Regions from separate parts of the Homo sapiens genome. Here all the other regions are linked to region 2. The links are contacts of gene promoters, found by promoter capture Hi-C in blood cells and fetal thymus (Javierre and others, 2016). All regions are on one chromosome and are shown on one strand. Each heading gives the region's core, a stretch centred on a gene start or on the middle of the fragment in contact. The rest is flanking DNA. Distances are from core to core; before and after follow the strand shown.

Region 1 (3,603 bases), core at 982-3,481, 980 kb before region 2:
TTTTTCTTGATAGCCAGTTAGTGTTTTACTTACTGTAAAGAATGAAAACTTAGGCTCTCAGCTTAATTTAAACCTCAGCTACAAAAAATAACATTGATATTTTTCAGAAAAATTATTTTTTTGAGTATGTAATATTGACAGCGTAAAAGGCCAGTGGTATCAACTGTCAGCCCGTCCAAGAATTAAGTTCTAAATATGTATTTTCTATTGCTTAATCTTATACTTGTTTTCTGTACTTTAATTCTATACTTAAATTCTGTGCTGAAGTACTTTCAGTTAATATTAATAAATCTCACATACTTGCATAGCACATTACTGAAAATTATATAAATGAAGTATGGTACTATGTTTATCTTTCTCAAAATATATTGATTTTTATTTATAATTGCATCAGAAACTCAACAGTATAGGAAATAATGTCCCCCTCCTATTTTACCTATTTAAAGCACCAGCACTCCTTCAGATTTTTTATGTTTCCATAAGTGTAGCTTTTTATTTTTCATAAGATAAATTTTTATAATTTGTCAAACTGTCAATTTGGTTGAGCCTTCTGCATTATAGCTTAATTTTTTAAAGCTGTGTAGCAAAAAAACACACAATTACTTACTGTATTTTAAAAGAATATTAGTATTATTTCCTTAGTCCTAATTATTAGTATAATTAGTATTATGACTCCCTGGCCTGCAATACTCTTAAGAATTTTTATAAGAGAAAGATATTATTGGTAAGTAATGTTTAATTTATTTTAACTGAAAGTTTAAACTGTTATGTTTAAACTGTTTATGGACTTAAGTACTGACATTAAAGAAGTTATTGTCTTTCTTAGACTTAAATTTTATTTTGAGAATTATGGAAAATTAGGTTACTTTAAATCACTTACTCTGTCATTACATGAGGCTTTTTGCATGACTGAAATACCTGTAATTACTGTGTCATTTTTGTCATAGTTGACTTAAAGGTGTAACTATAATAATCACGAACTAAATTCTTGGTGAGCAGCTGTGTAAGGCCATTTTAACAGCTGGGGTAACCCAGCTCAGCCTGTAAGAGTTAAGCTTAATCATGAGACAGGTTATGTTAAGTCATTGAAGACTTCATACTGGGCATTTCTGAAATACTTAGAAAATTCAGTGGGATAGTTGGATTTTTGTTTTATCTTAAGTACTTTTTAAAATGCTTAATGAAAGGATGAGGAAAAGTATTTTAACAACTAAAGTTCTTAGGCACAAATAATAGAAATAAAATCCAAAGTTTACTCATTAAAAAAAAAAAGTCAAATATACTCTATATGCTAGTGTTTAGACCACTACAGTAGGTAGGAGAGGAAAAAAATATATAAACACACACACATATTATTATAGTATAATATGGAATCAGAAAAATCCTGAGGTTATTTTTCTTGAATTTCATCTTTTAAAAATTTTTTTAAAAATCATTATGCCTGTAGCTTCTTTCCAATAAAAATGTTTTCTTATTACTATACAAAAACATTTAGAGCACAGGCATACATGCCTTTTGTAAAAGAAGGCAGACACAAAAGAATTGAAACAATGCATTTTATTTGGATATATTTTATAAACTAGCTATATTGTTCACTAAACTATAATAAAGGAAAGCTCACCAAATTGAACCTTCTTACAAGAAGGCCATATATGTAATATTATTAGAGCTGTAATATGCTTTTTTTTGGTATAAATTTAAGGGGTACTCTAGTTTTTTTTACATGGATATATTACATAGTGGTGAAATTTGGGCCTTTAGTGTACCTGTCACCCAAATAGTATACATTGTACCCGTTAAGTGATTTCTCATCTCTCAGCATCCTCCCTGCATGTCACCCTTCTGAGTCTCTTAATATCTATTACTACACACTCCATGTTCATGTGTACACTTTACTTAGCTTTCACTTGTAAGTGAAACGTGGTATTTGACTTTCTGTTTCTGTGTTGTTTCACTGAAGAATCACCTCCAATTCCATCCATGTTGCTGCAAAAGACATTTCATTCTTTTTTATAGCTGAATAGTATTCCATTTGTGTGTGTGTGTAAACATATATATATGTGGGTTAGTTATCATAGTTGACTTAAAGTTATAACTATTATAATCACCAACTAAATTCTTGGGCATCTTTAAAATAATGATTTCTTTTCTTTTGGGTAGATGCCCAGTAGTGGGATTGCTGGATCAAATGATAGTTCTATTATTAGTTCTCTGAGAAATCTCCATAATGTTTTCCATAGAGATTGTACTAATTTGCATTCCCACCAACACCGTATAAGCATTTCTTTTTCTCCACATCCTCGCCAACATCTATTATTTTTTGTCTTTTTAATAATAGCCATTCTGAATGGTGTGAGATGAGATCTCATTGTGGTTTTACTTTGCATTTCTTTGATAATGATGTTGAACATTTTTTCATGCTTGTAGGCATGAAAAAATATGTATGTCTTCTTTTGAGAAGTATTTATTCATGTTCTTTTCCCACTTTTTAATGAAGTTAATTTGGTTTTTGTTGTTGAGTTGCCTGTCAATTCTGCATATCAGCCCCCTGTTAGAAGCATAGTTTGCAAATATTTTCTCCCATTCTGTAGGTTGTCTTTTCATTCTGTTGATTTAGAGATGTAATGTACTCTTAAACCTGCAAGGGACTTAATCTCAATCATCTGAAGAGAAGTCAGATAGTCTATATCTATTAAATATTTAGCCTCCTCTTTGTAGAAATCTGAAGTATAAACTCCAGGTAATTGTACTGCAAGACATTAAATAGTTAAGGTTCCTGAATCTTGGAGTTTCTGGTGTACCATGGGATGGTTTTGTCATCTGTCAACTTATAATTTATTAGCACTTGTTTTGGTTGGTTTTCTGTGTTTTACTTTTTAATTTATAATGTATTTTCAGCAAAATTTTTGGAAATAACTGGAATATAAAACAGCTTAAATGTCTAACATTGAGATGTTGATTCCATAAATCAGAGCAGTTACAATACCTTATATAATCTAGTATTCTGGCATTTTTATTTTGAGAATGCTACCTATCTGTGCATATAGGCATGTACATGCAATGCTTTTATTTTGCAAATGTCCAATTATCAGGTCACATTTTTATAACACTTGTGTATGTTGTATGTGCTGCTTCAGAACCCAAGCATATTTCTCTTAGTTAGGGGCCGCCCTTGTTGCCCAAATGAAGAAAATTAGCAGGGAAGTGCAGTATGTTGTCCATTGAATGTTTACATACATGTAATGTCTCAAATACATTATAATTGGAAGTTGTAATCTGAGTGAGCACTTTGAGCATGTAAATAAATATCTTTTAGAACATTTTTAGTAATCATTTTAAATGTGATTTTAATCTTATAAAAACATTTTAATTTATTTGACATACCTTTTGTGAATACTAAAGCTTAAAAAAAAAATACTAAAACTTTAAAAGATATCCTGACCAGGCGCTGTGGCTCACGCCTGTAATCCCAGCACTTTGGGAGGCCGAGGTGGGCGGATCACAAGGTCAGGAGTTCGAGACCAGCCTGGCCAACATAGTAAAACCCTGTCTCTACTAAAAATAACAAAAATTAGCTGGGCGTGGTGGTGGGCACCTGTAATC
Region 2 (3,581 bases), core at 123-2,622:
CATCTGCTGAATAGTGGAAGCTAGATCTGCTGTGAATGGGTGGGTCCAGGAGGCTGGGACACTAATTCACTAGACCTGCTCATGTGATTCCCAAAGTCCCAAGCCAACAAGGCTACCGCCGCCTGCACCAACACCTCGCTCTGACCAGGCCTGAAATAAGACACCAAGGTAGTTCTTCCCACTCCCTAGCAGAAGCGGAGTTAACAAGGGACCTTTGTTGAGCCAGAGGAAACACAAACACATACACACTATCAATAATAACCACGACTTGAACGCAGTTTCATCACAGAATTTACGAAATTGAGCAACAGCTACCTAACCAGTAAGTCCTTACACCAGGAAAGGGCTGCAAACCTCAGAGGGGCACCGCCTCTGTCTCCTGTGTAAGCAAGTTGATTTACAGGGGAAACCTGAACTCCACATCTCTTTGCCTTTTCCTGTGCCTCCCAGAGGACCCTGGGACCAAGGAATGGGATGGAGGGCCCTAATGACATATTCCTTCGTCAAAACAAGCTGGCTCTCTCTCTCCCAGGGTCAGTCACCGCGTTACGCCCCGTCCCGGAGCCCGAAACCCTAGAAGTCACCTCCTCCCCCCTGCGCCCCCGCCCGACGCAGCGACCTCGTTTGGAACATCCCCAGCCGGCCCCCAGCCCAATGCCTGCTCCCTCAGCCCAATGCCCGCACCCCCTGCCCAGTTGGCGGATGCAGAGAAGGGACATTTCGACTCTCCCTCCTCCTTCAACCCTCTAAAATAAAAGAATCCCTCAAGCGCAAATCTCCGGCCAGCACAGCACCTACCTGTCCCCGGCCGTGGCTCCTCCTCCCCGAGCAGTGGGGCTCGCTGGACAAGTGTCCTCAGATAGTCCAGAAAGTTTGCTCTGCGGTCCCGGGGACGCCTGCGCGGGACCCAGTGAGGAAAGCCGGGCTGGCTCCTCGCACCTCGGGCGGCCGCCGCTCGAAAGTCTTGGCCCAGGTCCTCCAGGCCCGGCTCAAACTCAGGAGTGCCCGGGAAGAATGTAGGTCGTGAGAAGGTCGGAGCGCAACTTTTCGAAGGTGCGTCAGCCGCGGGCTGAGGCGCGTGGGTCACTGCCTCCCCCCAGCCTCTCCCTAGTGAGCGCGGGGGGGGCGGGGGCGGGGGCGGGGGCCGGGGCGGGGCAGGGGCGGGGGTGGGGCCCAACCTGCCTGGAGGCCTCGGGGAGCGCGCCCCGGCCCCGCCCCCGCCGCCGCCGGCCCCGCCTCTGCCGCTGGGACACGCCGCCGCCAGGTGCGCCGGGGACTTAGGCAGTGCCGCGCCGCACGGCCCGCGCCGGTTTCCAAGGTGAAGGAGGAGGAGCCTCTGAGGGAAAGTTTCCACAGAAACTTGAGCTGGGCGCAGTGTAGCACTCGCGCCCTTGGGGGCTAGCGTTTGGCCGGAGCTACACACTCTTTACTCACGCACGCACACCGCCGTACACAGCACAATCGTTCACCGTCCCGCCAAAGGCTCGTCTCTCGGGTTCTGCCTAGTGGAAGGAGTCGGACAACGCCGCACGTCACGGGCGTTTCGGATTTCTTGCTTCCCAAAGGTTTGACGGCGGCCACCGGCGCCCCGGCCCAGCTCTGCTTTCCTTTGCTGACTCCTTCCTTTAGGTGTGAATTTTAAAATGCTGATACCGCCCCAAGAGAGCTGAGTCAAGTGAGGCAAACGTTCGCCTGTTGTTCTCCTGACAGACTCCCTGCAGTGGGCAGGGGAAATGTGGCCTTGGCCGACATTAATGAAGTGCCAGGATGGAGGGAGGGGGCCTGCTGATTTGTTCTGTTTTACTTTTTAAGGGTAACTAGAGCGTTACTGGAGTCGTCTGTGGGTTTGGGGAGTATGTGGCGCGTGTGTGTGTCACACATTTCACTGGCAACTCCCGCCAACCCCTTCCCAAGAAATGAAGGCTCTAATGTGGGCAGTTCTGCAACAAAGGTGAAACTTCCCCAAATCACGATTCCCCGCAAGATGAGAGAGCAGGTGCAGCATCCATTTTCCCACTATCACGCTTGAGATGGTGGCTTTGGGCACTGCCGGGTGCCCCGACATCCTTCCCAGAGCCCAGCCTTCCCACCCAGGCCCGGCCCTGCGCGGCCGCCTGCCTTTGCATCAGAGACCGCGGCTGTGCCATTGCCAAGGTGGGCAGCGCCGCCTCGCTTCCCCATTCCTCCGTCTCCCACGCCTCTTGCGTGTTTGAGTCGCGAAGTGATGGACTTTAAATCTCAGAGGAGGAATGAGAAACTTGGTTAGTGGCTCTCTTGGCATGTTCGTAGCCCTGTGGTTGAAGTGGCTGAAACCTGCGTTGAGCCTCAGTCCAAGCAGCTGGGGCCACACCAGTTTGCAAAAGCGGATGTGGCAGTTTCCACCGCAGCAGCAGCCTGCTGGCGCCTCATCAGATTCTCCTTTGGAGGAAGTATCTTCTTCCCTTCATTCTCGGTGAATGGCATCCAGAGATAACCAAAATCAGGTGTATCTAGTTTCAAGTTCTGTCTTGCAACCGTGATAATTGGAGGATGCAAACTTTACACTTTCTTCTCTAGCTGTCTACCACCACTGCTGCGCTTGTGGATGACTGCAGGAACACCGGGTACTTGCCACAAGTATCTCTCCAGATTCATCAGCCTTTCACCTGTGACAAGCTCAGTCAAGAAGTGGCTCCTAAGTAAAAGCTGGGGAAGAACAAGGAAGATAGAGCTCAGAGTAGAAAGCTGTGAAGTTCTGCACAACAGGTCCCCTTGGCCTGCTCTAACAGTTGGAAGGTGGGGGAAGCATTCATTTACTCAACAAATATATACTGAGTGCCTTTTGCATGCTAGGCACGCTTCTAGGGGTTGAGGACACAGCAGAGAGCACAAACAACAATTCCAGCCCTCGTGGAGCTTACCTCTTCCACGTGGGAAAGACAGATGGTAAATGTATAAGGACAATATATGGACTGCTGTATGATTAGAAATGCTATGGAGAGGCTAGGAGTGCTGTCTCATGCCTGTAATCCCGCAGTTTGGGAGGCCAAAGGAGGAGGATCACTTGAGGCCAGAAGTTGGAGACCCAACCTGGGCAACATAGTAAGACCCCCTATCTACAAAAAGTTTAAAAATTAGCCAGGCATGGTGGCGTGCACCTGTAGTCCTAGCTATCCAGGAGGCTGAGGTGGGAGGATCACTTGAGCCCACTGCATTCCAGCCTGGGTGACAGAGTGAGACCCTGTTTTGAAAGAAAGAAAGAAATGCTGTGGATAAAAATTAAGCAGAGAGGGTACATAGAAAGTATGAGGGGTGCTATGTTCGGAGAGGGGTGATGATCAAGGAAAGCTTCTGGAGGAGGTAACATTTGAGGAACGACTTGAGGGAGGTTAGGGATATCTGAGCAGACAACTTCCCAGGCAGAAAGCATAGCAAATGTAAAGGCCCTGAGGCAGGAGTATGCCTAAGTGTACTAGGAGCAATCCAGAAGGCACCATGAAAGAATGGAGAAGATGAAGTCAAAGAAGTGAAAGGTGGGGGTGATGCAGATCAGGTAAGGCTTTTACTCTGAGTGAGTTGGTTGGAGCCATTGGAGGATTTTG
Region 3 (3,900 bases), core at 114-2,613, 1.0 Mb before region 2:
AAAAATGAAACATTGACTCAGCCTAATTTAGCCCAATTTTAAACATGTGGGGAGGATAATGGAAATGGGAGAAATGGGGACAATGGGTGAGATGGGTTTTCCCCTAACATATTAGAGTGATAAGAACTTTTCACATCTGAGTTTGAATTCTGATTATACCACTTACTGTATAACCATGAGTATATAATCTCAGTGAACCTATTACTTTATCTGTAAAATAAAGACTCATGCCTACCTCTCAAGGTTTTTGTAAGGATTAAGTGAAATAATTTATGTAAAACAAGTAGCATAGTGCCTGGGACACTCAGATATTTTGCAGATATCGGCCTTGTGACCTCATTTTTTCCGTCTCCTGTGCCTTACCCCAAATCCCACAAAATAAACTTCATTCCCCGCAGCGGTTGTCAATCTCTATATATATGTTTTACAACCTTCAGCATTCAGTCATCATATCACCCTCTAGTGTAAAAAGTAGAGAAATAAATTCTTTTAAAAAGGTACATAGGAGGATTAGAAGAGTACTGTAATAAGCTAGGCCCATCTTCAATAAAAATAGACATAAATTTTGAAGTCGATGCTACCCACAGATCTCCCTAGTTGATAAAATATGTACCCTTTCCTTTCATTAGAATTTAAGTCAATTTCTCTAGACTTTCTTCTAATCTTTAACTAAAGCTTCTGTATATTTAAATGCTTTAATGAATCTTCCATATGGATGCCAAAATGAATTTTAGCTCATGGTTAATTTCTAATTAATGCCTGTTAATATAGTTTTAAATGTATTTGTTAATATTATTTTAAACAATAATAGCTCTAAATGTTGGTGATAAACTGTATCTCATTCACTGCAGGTAATGACAGTTACTATTATTAATTATTTAAGAGACGGGGCCTTGCTGTGTTTCCCAGGCTGTCCTTGAACCCCTGGGCATAAGAGATCCTCCTGTGTAGCTGGGACTACAGGCGTGGACCACCGTGCCCAGCTCAAAAAGTATTTTAATTATGAGGTTTCATTGTAGACTAAAGAATAATCTTCACACCAAATGGACCATTTTAAAATTGTTTTATAGCATTCCATTGATTAGTTCTTTATACAGATGATAAACTTCACTGAAGTATACACAAATATCACAAATAGTTATCTTCAAAATGCTTCCAAAGAAAATTGTTTCATATGTGTATTATAATGATCTGATCCATTTTTAATGTTGTTTTTGTTGGTGGTAGGGAAGACAGTATGAAGAAAAAGGACATAGGAATAGATCATGATGAATATTGTTTTCACTTTGGTAGTTAACTCCAAAATTATTTCTCAAGCTCCGATCATTCACCTTAGCCATAGTTTTGCATTTCTAGCTGTCTGTTGGGCATCATCATCTGAGTGGTCCACTGAAAACTAAAAGTACTGTTTCTTTCTCCAAACCAAGTTTTTATTTGCCTCCCCAGGTTATCTTTTCCCTCTCAATAGGTCCCATCTTCTGGTCAGTGGATAGAAAAGTGGCTTGACTTTTTCTTATCATCTGAGTCTGGGCCTGCTGAATAATTTAACAGACTTGATCACTTAGTCTCTCTTTTTCTTACCCGCCAGGCAATTGTAAGATAAAAATTGGAGGGTCAGTGTTTAAAAACGTTAAGAGCATTTTTGCTTGGGCTTCTGTTTGCATCAGGCTATAACGCCACGTCCTTGACAATGAGTTGGCAGTATGAATAATTGGATGAGTTTTTTAAAATGAATTTTTAGCTCTGTATAGATAATAACCTCAATACAGATATCTGGTGCCCCATTTCCCACTGATAAAGCCAAACCTAAATGAGAATGTTTGAAGTCTTCCAATATCTTACCATAGTTTTTACCTGGTTTCATCTCCTCTCCTCTCTACTTGTTTTGAATCATACTCCTTCCCACCAGCCATATCCTTCAAATCGAAGTCCAAATCCCCTATCTTAATACCTTCCTAGATTTAGAAAATCGAATTCCTTTCAACCTGTTCTTGCTTCTCTTCATGGTGCAGTTCATTTGGTATTACCTGGTGACATTTTTGGTAAGCTTTGTCTTAAGTTGACATATAATTCTTCACTTTTTTGAGCAGTAGAAATTTGGTAAATTTGTTTTCAGTCCTAATTCAGTTTGAGAATTGAAGACTGGCAAACTGTAATGTGAACAGTTGTCATTTCACCTCTTTTTTTTTTTTTTTTTTTTTTTAAGACAAGGTCTTGCTTTGTTGCCCAGGCTGGATGGAGTGCAGTGGCATAATCATGGCTCACTGCAGCCTCCACCTCCCAGGCTTAAGCAATTCTCCCACCTCAGCCTCCCGAGTAACTGGGACCACTCGTGGCACCACCACGCTTGGCTAATTTTTGAATTATCTGTAAAGACAAGGTCTTACTATGTTGCCCACCCTGGTCTCAAACTCCTGAGCTCTGGTGATCTTCCTGCCTGGGCCTCCCAAAGTGCTGGGATTACAGGTATGAGCCACCATGCCCCAGCCTCATTTCACCTCTTAAGATGTACCTAAGCTAGACTAGAAATTGTAAATGGGCACGTCATTAAAATTGAGTTTAAGACTCAGGTATTCAGTATATGTACAGATCGTTAAATTGAGACTGCCCTGAGGAGAAGTTAAAAATCCCACTTTAGGAATCATTTTGCTAACATGCAGAAATCAGTTGAAGGCAATTCATACAGCCATTAAACATCACATTTGAAAGAATATTTAATAACAGGAAATGCTTAAAAATATTTTATTTAAAATATAGGATTCAAAACTCTATACAGTGTGATCTTAATTATGAAGCAAACATACATTTTTATATATGTGTGTGTGTATGTATCTACATATATACATATGCAAAGAAAAAGATCAGAAGAAGTTGTACCAAATGTTAGGAATTATCTCTGAATGTGGTTGAATAAAAGGTTATTTTTTCTTAAATACATTTTATAATTTCTCCATTTTGTTATAACAAGCATATATGCCTCTTTATTTGAAAAATAACTCTCTGCTGGAAACCAATTATTATTCTATGTGGTCTTTTTTGATGACTTTACATGGTGTATAATGCTCCTAATGGAGGATTGGATAAAAAGATGTTCCTCACAGGAAATGTCATTATATCATGATCTCTGCATGAGAATGCAGCTGAATATAGTGGAAACCTTCCCCTATTCCCAACCCCCCATTTCATAGTGGAAAGAGCACAGAACTCTTTAAGTCCTAGTGTAACTGATTCTTCACATCTCTAGGGCTCAGGTGTTACCCTGGCAATTTTCTAAGATCAACTTAACACGTTATTAGAAGAGTAATAGCATAGTAGTATCCGTTCTTGTTTTGAAGATATTTATTGTTTTCTTTGAAGAGTTCTTTAGCCTTGATAGCACTTTTGGCTCTCTCTAAACATGAATATTTTTCATATAAAAACCGTTCTCCGAGCAATTTCAGAGTCTGTTTTTGAAAATGGGTGTCCCCAACCCCCAGGCCATGGACCAGTCTGTGGCCTGTTAGGAACTGGGCCTCACAGCAGGAGGCGGGCGGTAGGTGAGTGAGCATTACCGCCTGTGCTCCGCCTCCTGTCAGATCAGCTGTGGCATTAGATTCTAATAGGAGCACGAACCCTATTGTGAACTGTGCTTGCGAGAGATCTAGGTTGTATGCTCCTTCCGAGAGTCTAATGCGTGGTGAGCTGAGGTGGAACAGTTTCATCCCAAACCATCCCCCCACTTCCCCTGTCCATGGAAAAATTGTCTTTCATGAAACCTGTCTCTGGTGCCAAAAAGGTTGGTGACTACCGTTTTAAAACACAATTCTTTTTTTTTTTTTTTTGAGATGAAGTCTGGCTCTGTTGCCCAGGCTGGAGTGCAGTGGTGCAATCTCAGCTCACTGCAGCCTCCACCTCCCAGGT
Region 4 (3,913 bases), core at 221-2,720, 960 kb before region 2:
AACTCTTACAATTCAGAGGTTATTTTTAATACCTTTTTATGCTTCCAGAGATATGCAGGAGAAAGTTAGTATAAATATTTCTATGGCTGATTCATTGAAGTGTCTGTTAAACTTGGAAAAATCCTTAAGGAATTTTTGTGCTGTAAGAATGTGGCTTGTTTTTGTTTACTAAATGTTTTTAAGTGACTGTGCAGCTGTGATTTTGAATATTTCATTTTCTAAATTTAACGAAACTCAGATACAGTTTGACACTTAATTTTAAAAGTAATTACTATGTACTAATTTTGAAAATGAAAAAGAAACACACATGGTATAGTCATTTAGGTGGTACTTTTGGGAGTCTAGAGTAGCTCCTAAATATCAGAAAATGCTGAAATAGAGAAAAAAAATACAGTACTTTGAAGAGAAGAAAGAATAGGGTGGTGGTATGAGCAAATTTAGAGAGGGAATTTAATAGGGTACCTGTTTTGTGGTGGGGTTTTTTTGGTTTGTTTTGTTTTTGTTTGTTTGTTTTTGAGTGAGGAAACTAAAATGTGGCTTTCTAAGCTTCTCTTACTTGCATATATCTTCCATTGGTACTTGGAAAATATAAACATTTCCAGATCCTTTGGTGTTTTTTATGGTCACTACTTACTTTATCAATAAAGGCATTAATTACTGTCAGTTATCACATATCAGACCATTCTATTTTAGATCCTTTGGTCTTTTTCTCTTTAAGAATGTTTCACACATCATGCATCAACATGAGTAAGCAATGTAATTGTCGGTTTTCTTTGCATTCTCTGTGCTGTGCAAGCCACCGGCTATAAATAAGATGATGATCCCCCATGCCCATGCACAAATGAAAAGTCACAGTGATAAAACTACAAACAAACCATTATAGTACAAAATAATAACTGCTTAAATGGACCTACGTACAAAGTACTGTCAGAGTATGAGGAGGCACTCAGAGCTCAATATGAGTGGTTCAGGAAGGGCTTCACAGTAACCCTGAATTAAAACATGAAGATGTTTGCTAAGTAGGTGATCAGAGGAGTGATAGAGGGAACTTGTATCATTGCTTGGGATCGTGTCTTGTCTTATGTTTTTTCATATTAAGTATACTGCTGCAAATTACATCTTGCCGTCAATTTATTAATGTTGAAAAAATACGTATTGAGCACCTAGAGTAGAGAACTTTCCTAGAAACTGTAGATATAACAGTGAACTTGATAGACAAAGGCCATGCCCTCATGGAGCTTAGATTGTAGTTTGGGGAGACAGAAAATAAATACTACTGTTAATATTTTGATGACAGTAAAATAGGGTAATAGAATAAGGTATGATTTGGGATGTAGAAGAGGCACTACTCTAGTTACTTTCTATACATAAACTCATTTAATCCTTAAAATCACCTTGTGAAGTACGTTGTATTGTATTTTACCTGTTTTACACGTGAGGAATCTCAGGCATAGGAAGGTTCTTGCCCCTTAGCTAGTAAGTAATGTAGCTAGGACACTAACTCAAGCAGTCTTATTCCAGCATCACAGCCACTGCAGGAAACGGATCTGGAGTAGGCATTTGTTGAACAGACCCTTAGTGTCCAAATGTTTTAAGGGTTAACTTTTGCCATATAATCTTGGAATTTTAAATGTGTAATTCTCACCTTTCCCAACAATTTATGATGGTCTCAATATCTAATTACTGATAATACTGCCTTCTGTATGTTTTTGTCATCAGATGATGTTTTAGTATTGGGTTGTGCCCTAGTTGTCAGATAGGAGTACAAAGCGACTTAGCACATGATTTATAAATCTGTAACTACACTATGGAAACAACTTGTATGATTTTGTCTTTTATGTAACAAATTTTTAATTAGGTAACAATTTGTATAATTTTGACATCAAAGGGCAAGGCTATTTAAATTTGTAAATATAAACTAAGTTAGGTTTTACAGAAACTAACTTAATGTTGAGGCTTGTAATATAGAAGACAGATGAAAAATATGCTAAAAATAAACTTGGAACTAAGCTCCTGGCAAGGTAAACAAGTGTGAAATAAGTCCACAGTCCCTTGTCTGCAAAGCAGAAATCCATCATGCTCTGAAAACTGAAAATTTAAAAATAAAGGTAGCAAAACCTAACCCAAACTAACATAAAACAGTCATCTTTATTATTTATCTGAATATTCATATATTTTGCTGGAGAAACACTAATGTGTGATATACTGGAAGTGCTCTGTAATAAATAGTATATGCACTCTGTTACCTTTCTACAATTCAAAATATTCTGAATTTAGGAACACAGCTGTCTCCAAGAGCATGGAACTAAATCCAGAGACCTTAGAGTTTTACAACTGTCACCCACTCATAAAAAACTGAACACACTTTGAAATGTCAGAGTAGTCTAAGCTTTATCTTAAGTCTCTGAGTACATGCATATTAAATACTTTAAAACATACATATATAGATGAGTACCTAAAGTTTATTAACCTAATTATAGGCTATTATAACCATATAATACAATGATAGTTTGGAGCTTTTATATTACTTTTCTTCAGTGATTAAAATACAGCTCATGCTAATAGACTTATTCTTTAAATGAGTGTAGAGAACCTCAACCACATTTTTTTTAATTGTCCCAGTATTTCCATGGGAAATTAACACCACAAAATTAATTTTAATCTGCTGATATATAGTATGCATACTCTCTGTGTGTGTTGCTACTGTTACAAAGATGAATAAGACAGCACACCTTTCCCTTAAGGAATCCACAAATGCCTTCATGTCTCTGAGAGACTTGTCTCATCATCCACATTTCATGGTCACATATCAAAATTAGATGAACATGGCTTAATTAATTTATTCAACAAATAAGCATCTGCTAATAGCCAGGCCCAGTTCTAGGCACTTGGGATACATTAGTGAACAAAACAGGAAAAAAAGTCCTTTCAACATTTTAGCGGTCCTGAGAAGTCCTCCAAGGCAAGAGGCAGTTTGTGCCAACATACAGTGTGTCATCAGACTCCTTTATTAAATTATACACTTTTCATTTCTAAATCATTTGGTGATAATTTGTATTATAGTTTTTTCATATGTATACATAACTACATACATGTACATACAATTTACCTGATTTGATAGAATTAAGTTAGTGGCCTTATTGAAATGTATAATCTGCCGGTTTTCAAATACTGTTAGATAGTATCTATTACAAGCAAAATATTATTTTGATGCTCTGAAATGATAAATAGGATTCCATTTAACTCCCTTTTTAAATATTTTTGTGAAACAACTTTCTTTTGGTGTTTTTAATAATTCTATCAGGCACAGCTTAGTGATTTCTTTCTGAATTATTCCTGGATCAGAATTAGACTTCTTGTCTTTTTCCATGCCACTATGGAAGGTTGCAGAAACTAGCATGTATCTCACATATAAATTAGTTATATAATGGTAGATAAAATTTATGGTAGATATATTTGTGTTATATTTTGGTATAAATAACAGTAGATATAATTTAAGATTTTTAAAGATGATATTAATTTTACTATAGAAATAATAGTGGAAAGGCCCAGCATTTTTGGTAAAGTTGATGACATTCTAAATGTTAGCAGTTTCAATTCAGTTATTTCCTTTCACAAGTACCTGCTGATGCAGCACGTCTCTTTATTTGTATATATAGTGTTTTACTCCTAAAATATGAAGGGTAAAATTATTAAAGTAGGGTTTTTTTAAGTCAATATCTTAGATTAATAAAGTTTTCTTTTGTGACTTTGATAGTGTCTTGTGTTTATATATTTATAAACTTCATTGCAATTTAGGAATGGGGGAAGCAGTGAGTCTTTCTCAAATATTAATACTGTTTTTGTAATTCTGTTTTTCTATACTGAATATTTTTCAGAGCTATCGAACCATAAAATAGCAGGCTTTTCTTCT

The links. Contacts are between HindIII fragments. The CHiCAGO score rates a contact against its expected background, and 5 or more counts as called.
Region 1: a fragment that was not itself captured here is called in contact with the fragment with the promoter of FHIP1A-DT in region 2 in 5 of 17 cell types (total CD4 T cells, naive CD8 T cells, non-activated CD4 T cells and 2 more); the score reaches 8.3 in total CD4 T cells.
Region 3: a contact is called between a fragment that was not itself captured here and the fragment with the promoter of FHIP1A-DT in region 2, in 2 of 17 cell types (fetal thymus and total CD4 T cells). The highest score is 7.2, in fetal thymus.
Region 4: a contact is called between a fragment that was not itself captured here and the fragment with the promoter of FHIP1A-DT in region 2, in 7 of 17 cell types (non-activated CD4 T cells, total CD4 T cells, naive CD4 T cells and 4 more). The highest score is 9.3, in non-activated CD4 T cells.

The regions. Positions count from the first base shown.
Region 1 is chr4:152,387,844-152,391,446 of GRCh38, reverse strand. The region is part of intron 4 of FBXW7 (F-box and WD repeat domain containing 7); the gene reads left to right. Among named protein-coding and RNA genes, the nearest start is that of FBXW7-AS1, 52 kb to the right of the region's middle. The HindIII fragment of the contact is 2,347 bases long and covers 1,058-3,404 here.
Region 2 is chr4:151,406,683-151,410,263 of GRCh38, reverse strand. FHIP1A-DT (FHIP1A divergent transcript) reads left to right here and starts at 1,372. Exons shown (of 3, transcript NR_183963.1): 1 at 1,372-3,081. FHIP1A (FHF complex subunit HOOK interacting protein 1A) reads right to left here and starts at 1,088. Exons shown (of 14, transcript NM_001109977.3): 1 at 799-1,088. RefSeq lists silencers at 1,129-1,298, 1,419-1,891 and enhancers at 1,118-1,817, 1,818-2,517, 2,349-2,658. The HindIII fragment of the contact is 9,357 bases long and covers 1-3,329 here.
Region 3 is chr4:152,403,399-152,407,298 of GRCh38, reverse strand. The region is part of intron 4 of FBXW7 (F-box and WD repeat domain containing 7); the gene reads left to right. Among named protein-coding and RNA genes, the nearest start is that of FBXW7-AS1, 68 kb to the right of the region's middle. The HindIII fragment of the contact is 1,372 bases long and covers 678-2,049 here.
Region 4 is chr4:152,370,740-152,374,652 of GRCh38, reverse strand. All of the region lies in intron 4 of FBXW7 (F-box and WD repeat domain containing 7), which reads left to right. Among named protein-coding and RNA genes, the nearest start is that of FBXW7-AS1, 35 kb to the right of the region's middle. The HindIII fragment of the contact is 1,843 bases long and covers 549-2,391 here.